Regions from separate parts of the Homo sapiens genome. Here region 1 is linked to region 2. The links are contacts of gene promoters, found by promoter capture Hi-C in blood cells and fetal thymus (Javierre and others, 2016). All regions are on one chromosome and are shown on one strand. Each heading gives the region's core, a stretch centred on a gene start or on the middle of the fragment in contact. The rest is flanking DNA. Distances are from core to core; before and after follow the strand shown.

Region 1 (3,784 bases), core at 488-2,987, 190 kb before region 2:
CATCATTGCCCACTTTTCTTCCTCAAGTTTATTGAATTCATAAATGAGAGATCTAAAAACTGCTTTTCTGGATGATGCTGACAGTAGGAGACACCTCAAGCTTTTGAGCTCAAAAGTCTCTATAAGGCACATGTTCTATCTGCCTTGTAAAAGTGGATTCGACTTTTTAAAGTATCTTTTACCTGTTAACAATAACTTATCTATTATTCATGCTATTTATCACCTAATAAATAATGAATGAATACTGAATGAAAGAAGGAAAGAATGTGCAGTCTAACCTACAAACAGCAGAATAGACCAGAAAGCCGTTAGCATCCTAGTCATTGTTGTTGTTTAAAATATCAATGGTTGTCATGTTTTCCTTAGCTTCATATCCCTTGATTTAGGTCCAAATAACATCTAGCGCAATGTTTTAGATACAGCATGACAGACTCTAGGTACACTGTGATATGCACCATATCCACACCTCCTTTTTCCTCACAGGTTAGAATTAGAATTAAAAAGTAAAACAAAACAAGGCAAAAATGTGTAACCACATTTATTAGACATATGCAAAGTCTATTCCCATCGGCTTTTTGTAAATATCCTTCCCTCAAATGTCATGCACCACACAAAATGTAAAGATAAATCTAGAGGGCAGGAGAAAGTAGTTCAGATGACTGACATGATTCAGGAGAACCTGGATAGTTAACATATCTGAAAATAAGAGATGTGGTCTTATATATTAAATCAGAGTCTTGACCATGGAGACTGCTATTTTTCCAATTAGGCATAAGAGAATGAGCTGAAGACCAGCACTGAGACTGGGCTTCCCCACATAGCAGTTGTGTGAGCTTGCTTAAATTATCTAATTTCTCTCACCCTCAGTTTTTTCATCTATGTAATGGAGAAAATACTAATATTCGAATATTATTGTGGATTTTCATTACAATTATATCTGTATATAATGTACATAAAATACTACCCAGATACTATTATTACTGGTTCAACATTACAAATTATGCTCGGATTTCAACTACCCTAAAATTTGAAAAAATACTGACAAAAGAAAAATTAGCTCTGATCTATTTCTAATCCACTCACTCATCTTCCAGTTTTCTCTTAAGTAACTTACATCATCTAAAAGAAAAACGTCCTCTACCTTCTCTATTTTAGAAGCCTCCAATCTGGTTTCTGAAAGAATATCCTCCTGGCATCTCTAACAAGGTATAAATATCAAGGATTATATTCATAAGAAGAAATCTCTAATTCCCCAAGCTCAATTTCTGGCATGTGCAGTCAGAATTTCTCTGACTGTGTGATATCACACAACTTTAAAGAGGTTCTGAAAGCCACATATTTTCACTTCAACCTTGGGAACACTCACTTTTCTAATACATTCCACAACTATTTGTCCCCATTTTGGAGATTTCACAGCACATGTCTTTAACGCCAGTATTAAAGCTGGCACCTCAAAGCATTTAACACCTGTCCACTCCCCCAAGGACACAGCTGGTCTTCTCTGAACTCCTACCTCTTTTTCTTAGGTTATTTCCATCTCGGTTATTCCTTGCTCCAGCAGAATCCTGAAATGTGAGTGTCGCGTAGGTCACTTCTTCAGACATTGTAGAAGAAAACGCTACTTTAAATTATCTAATTAATGTTTCAATATCTTGAGGCCTGGGAACAGCATGTGTTTTTCAAGGCTGGGAGCTTTGATGTAGTCACTCAGCTGACCCAGACACACTCTACTGCCCCTCTGTAAGAGAAGAATGACAATTTGTTTCTCTACAGAGAAAGTGAGAAAAGCCAAATATTCTCCTTAGAGATATTCTCATTAGAATGTTACAGATCTCAAACTGTCTGCTCTGTCAGAACTGTTTCTTGCTGTGCAGCAAAGAAGGGGTGCTTGAGGCAGAGCAGGAGGAACATGAGGGAATTCCCATGATCCTCGGGGTAGAGGATGCTCTGAATGTTTCAGAAAAGAGTCAGGTTGTCTTCTTTACATCTATCTAAGGCTAGCTAATCTGCCTGGAGACATTGGTTCTAGTTTATTCTCAGCCACATTAGATATTAAGCAGAGAGACACACATTAAGACAGAAAGAGCTGTGCCACACACCTGGCTGCTATTATAGAAAATTCAAGCGTGTGTGTGTGTGTGTGTGTGTGTGTGTGTGTGTGTGAGAGAGAGACAGAGAGAGACAGAGAGAGAGAGACAGAGAGAGAGAGACATGGTGTTGGTAATGGAGCATGGAGAAGAAACTGATAGCTACTTAGCTACTTAACGTGAGTATGAATGGGAGTGCCCTCTTCTGGCATGGTTGGGAAAGTTCCTAACAGAACAACAACCATGGGATAATCCTGCAGACAGCAAGGAATACACAGGACAAGATTTTAAAAAGATAACTACCGGAAGTTAATACATCTGTGGTAATTTGTTACAGCAGCAATATGTAGTTAATACAGAACCCAGGAAAATATGGGGGGGGAGCGCTATATATGAGGGACGAAATTAAGGAATCTCCTCTAAAGCTTTCCTTTGGGGAGAGGCAGAATATTAGATAACTGTACTTAGGGGAAGGATTGGGTATGAGTTTTGTGGTTTCAGATGAGTGGGGAGTGATCTAAAACTTCCAAGGTTCATATCTGTGTGGAGATTATCTTAGTCAAAGGTGTCCAGCGTGAGGTGCACTCACCCCACAGCTGTGAAGCAGATGCAGAAAGGCAATGTAAAAACTTTCTCTTTAGGAACGCTGTGCATGATCTCTAAACACCTAAATATACATATGTTACTTGTTCATGTTTTTTGTTTTTTTTTTTTTCAAATTGATGAAATAATCAAAAAAATGTTTGGAGGCTCTAAGTCATATATCAATAAAACTCCACTATCAAAAATATTGAAACAAATAATAAATCTATGCTTATGTTTACTATTCTAGTTGAATTCAGAAAAGGCAGAGACCATTGACATGAGGACCAGTTTAAATAGATGATTACAAAAATAAGAAATTAAGAATGGTTTTCTATCTCTGTTCTGGTCCGTGTCCGGAGTTGGTTCCTGCCGGTGGGTTCCTGGTCTCGCTGACTTCAAAAATGAAGCCGCGGACCTTTGCGGTGAGGGTTACACCTCTTAAAGATGGCACGGACCCAAAGACTGAGTGGTAGCAAGGTTTATTGTGAAGAGCAGGATGACAAACCTTCCACAGCATGGAAGGGGTCCCAAGCGGGTTGCTGCTGCTGGCTGGGGTGGCTAGCTTTTATTTCCTTACTGTCCCCTCCATGTTCCGTTTCTGTCGTATCAGACTGACCTTTTTTCAATCCTCACCGCAATTGGCTACTTTTAGAATCCTGCTGATTGGTGCGTTTTACAGAGCGCTGATCGGTGCGTTTTACGTGGCACTGATTGGTGCGTTTTACAATCCTCTTGTAAGACAGGAAAGTTCCCTGAGTCCCCACTCGATTCAGGAAGTCTGGCTGGCCTCACGTCTCATGACTTTCACCAGATTTTGCAAAAACTGGGTTTTCATCCTCATTTCCTTAATTCTTTCACATACCTTAAAGCTTCCTAACAAAGTATTAACTTCTCACTATCCATGAAATGATGCTTAGCTTGAACAATGATGAAGAATGTCACCTGATTCCTAATTATTTCTAAGAGAAGATTGATAACACTTCTCACATACTTTCTATTATTATGATCCAAAAAGCTATATCATCTATCATTATTAGTGTATGATCATATTAATTTAGACATTTCTTTATATACTTTTCTCCCTTAAAAACTTACAGCATTTCTGTAGCTTA
Region 2 (3,731 bases), core at 435-2,934:
CAATTTTAGATTATGTGGCATGTGGCAATGAGAAGAATGTATATACTGGTTTTCTGGGTTCGGAGTACTGTAAAGGTCTATCAAATCCATTTGGTCCAATGTCAAGTTCAGGTTCTGAATATCTTTGTTAATTTGCTCCCTTGATGACCTGTCTGGAGTGTTAAAGTCTCCCACTATTATTTTGTAAATATTTAAGACTCTTTGTAGCTAAGAACTTGCTTTATGAATTTGGGTGCTCCTGTACTAGGTACATATATATTTGGGATAGTTAAGTCTTCTCGCTGAATTGAATTTATTATTATGTAATGTCCTTCTTTGTCTTTTTTCATCTTTATTGGTTTAAAGTCTGTTTTGTCTGAAATTAGGATTGCAAACCCTGTTTTTTTTTACTGATTTTCATTTGCTTGTTAGATTTTCCTCCATCCCTTTATTTCAAGCCTGTGTGTCATTGTGTGTGAGATGGTTCTACTGAAGATAGCATACCATTGAGCTTTGATTTTTTATCCAGCTTGCCACTCTGCACCTTTTAAATGGGGCAGCTAGTCTGTTTACATTCAAGGTTAGTATTCATATGTGTGGATTTGATCCTGTCATTGTATTGTTAGTTGGTTATTATGCCAGCTTGTATCTCCCCATCCCTTTCAGGGATGTCGATGATTTGTAGATTTGGCGCCTTTACATAATCCTATATTTCTCAAAGATTTTGTTCCTTCCTTTTCATTCTTTTTCCTTTGTTTTTGTCTGACTGTCTTATTTTAGAGGGCTAGTCTTCAAGTTCTTCAGCTTGGTCAATTCCACTGTCAATACTTGGAATTGTATTGTGAAATTCTTGTAATGTGTTTTCCAGCTCTAGCAGATCAGTTAGGTTCTTTTCTATAGTGGTTATTCTGTCTGTCAGCTTTTGTATTGTTTTAGTGTGATTCTTAGTTTTCTTGGATTGGGTTTTACCATTTTCCTGAATGCTGATGATCTTCATTTCTATCCATATTCGGAATTCTATTTCTGTCATTTCAGTCAGCTCTGCTGGTTTAAAACCCTTGTTGGATAACTAGCGCAGTCATTTGGAGGACATAAGAAACTCTGGCCATTTGAGTTGCTGGAGTTCTTGTGTTGCTTCTTTCTCTTCTCTGCATTTGAGTGTTTCTTTAGCCATGATGTAGATTGCATATAGTCAGTAGACTTCTTTTCTGGATGTATTCACAGGGTTGAGGCTTTGTGCAGGGTCTTTACTTGCAACTGACTTGTCTTTGGTCTCATAGTGGAGTGGGTGGTATGTTAGTGAAGTAGTTTGGTATTAAAGCTTTGGGATGTGATGCAGTAGGTTGTGCTTAGGCAGAGTGTTCAGTTGGTTGGCTCTTGATCAGTTGTGTGGCTCCCTTATATTTCTTCACAGTTGCAGCCATGCTGCCTCTCAATGCTCTGAAAGTTTGGGATCCTCTCCCACTTGAGTGTTGGCTGTAGATTATGGCTTGTCATTCCTGGGCTTTCCCCCACAGCTCTGGGGTGATCTCAGTGTTTATGTTTCCTCTCCAACTTGGAGGCAGCAGCAGAAGGGACCTTAGGAGTGGTTGTGGCTGAAGGTCTTTTATTTACCTCCTAGGGGCTCTACCCCAGAGAGGTGTGGGTCAGCAATTGCTCAGTGCAGTCTGCCCAGGATGGGGGTATCTGTGCTATGGGCCCAAACCAGGGTTTCTCTGCTTGGTGATGAGCAGGGGAAGTGTGCAGGACCTGTGGGAGATGAACTTTGCTCCTCTCCTTGGGTCGACTGTTGCTTGATGGGGGTATGGATAAGGTAGTTAGGGTCTTTGCTCCTTCATTAGTCTGAGGGTAGCAGGAGTAGTACCGCTGCAGAGGCAGTGGCAGATGGGCTTTTGGTTGCCCCTGGGGGTCTCATGTCTGAGGAATGCAGAGCTGCTGTTACTGGAAGTGTTCAGCCATGGGGGTGGGGCAGCTGCATTGCTGGCATGAGCTTGGTATTCCACTTTTTGGGGAGCAGAGGATTAAGAGTAATCAGGAGGAGAGAATGGTCTCCTCTCCCTATGGTGTCTGTGGCATGCTGTAAGCTTGAGTGTAGCCCTCAGGATCTTTGTTTCTTCCCCAGACTGAGGGTAGCAGGGATAGAACTGTTTCTATCCCTGTGGCAGAGGAGCTGTTGGATGCCTCTGGAAGCCTCTCCCCAGGGGAACTCTGAGCCACTACCAGTGGGTATGGTCAGCCATGTATGGGGCAACCATTCTGTGGTCATGAGCCAGGGGCCCTGCCTGGTGAAGAGTTAGGGGGTGTAAGTTCTCAGGGAAAAGGGGCTGGACTCTTTCTGTATGTTGACTGTGGTGTGCTGGAGGGGCCAGTGTGGTCACTAGGCCCTTTGTTCTTTCCCCAGCCCAACGGCCATTAGGCAGCACCGCTGCAACTGCAGTGGTGGAGGGGTTGTGGGTTGACTCTGTGATTTCCTCCTCAGAGAAATGCTGGGCTGCCTTTGATTGAAGTGGTAAGTTGGGGGCAGGGTGGTTGTGCTGCAGTACCATGTCCAGCGGCTGTGCCCAGGGAGGAGAAGTGAGGTCCAGCATGTGTGTGGAGAACAGTCCAGCCACTTATTCATGAGGTGGGTGCTCTGTGCTGAGGGCCAGATCAGCCCCTGGTCCCCACAGACTCTCCAGAGCCTGGAGACAGAGCGAGGGATGCAAGACGGCAAAGATGGCAACCTTCCCCTCCCACTGGGAACTCTGTCCAGGAAGTGGCAGAGCTGCTACTGGCTCGAGAGCCACAGCAGGGGGTGGCTGGAGGCCCAGGCTGAGAAGACCCGCCCAGCGAGGAGATACGGGATCAAGGTAACAGTCTGGTCATGTAACAATCTGGCCACCATTCTTGCAGGGCTGTTGCAGTATTCTGGGAGTCCACTCCAGTCCCTAGTTACCTCGGATTTTCCAGTACCTGAAGGTATCAACAGTGAAGGCTGTGAAACAGCAAAGATGGCAGCCTGCCTCTCCCACTGGGAGCTCCATCCCAGGGAGGTTCCAACATGTTGCTGGCCCAAACACACTGGTGAGGGTGGCTGGTGATCCCAGTTGGGTGGTCACACCCAGTGAGGAGAAACAGGATCAGTGACTGCTATAAAAAAGCACTCTGGCCACTTTCTTGTAAAGCAGCTGTGCTGTGTTGAGGGTCCAACCAGCCCCCTCATAACCTCAGACTCTCCAACGCCCAAAAGTGACAACAGTGAAGGCTGTGAAGCAGCACAAATGGCAGCCTGCCTTTCCCTCTGGGAGCTCCATCCTAGGGAGGTACAGACGTGTTGTCAACTGGAAAACACCCGGTGGTTGTAAATCTTGGTTTTGAGATTCCAGCCAGTAAAGAGAAACAGGGTCTGGGATTCACATGGAAAGGCAATCTGGCCACTTTTCTGTAGAGCTGCTGTGCTCTGCCAGGGGACCACTCCAGTCCCTAGTCGCCTCAGACTCCCTGAAGGCAACAATGGCTAAGGCTGTAAGACAGCAAGGATGGTGGGCTATCCTTGCCTCTGGAAACCCCATCCCAGAGGGGTACAGACCTGTTGCCAGCTCAAAAACACTTGTGGAGGTGGTTGTGGACCTCAGTGAGGAGATTTTGCTCAGTGAAGAGAAATGGGATCCAAGACCCACGTGAAAAAAACAGTCTGGCAGCCTCCCTGTAGAGCAGCTGTGCTATTTTGGGGGCTTCTCCAATCCTTAGTCACCTTGGATTTTGGCAACAAT

What was found. The method cuts DNA at HindIII sites, captures the fragments that hold promoters and counts their contacts. A CHiCAGO score of 5 or more calls a contact.
Region 1: the fragment with the promoter of CLEC12B here is called in contact with a fragment that was not itself captured in region 2 in 1 of 17 cell types (neutrophils); the score reaches 5.8 in neutrophils.

What each region holds. Positions count from the first base shown.
Region 1 is chr12:10,008,580-10,012,363 of GRCh38, reverse strand. It overlaps CLEC12B (C-type lectin domain family 12 member B), which reads right to left and starts at 1,737. Exons shown (of 6, transcript NM_001129998.3): 1 at 1,514-1,737. The coding sequence starts at 1,604. The HindIII fragment of the contact is 2,412 bases long and covers 103-2,514 here.
Region 2 is chr12:9,819,456-9,823,186 of GRCh38, reverse strand. It overlaps a transcript of KLRF1 not described here. Among named protein-coding and RNA genes, the nearest start is that of KLRF1, 6.2 kb to the left of the region's middle. The HindIII fragment of the contact is 763 bases long and covers 1,303-2,065 here.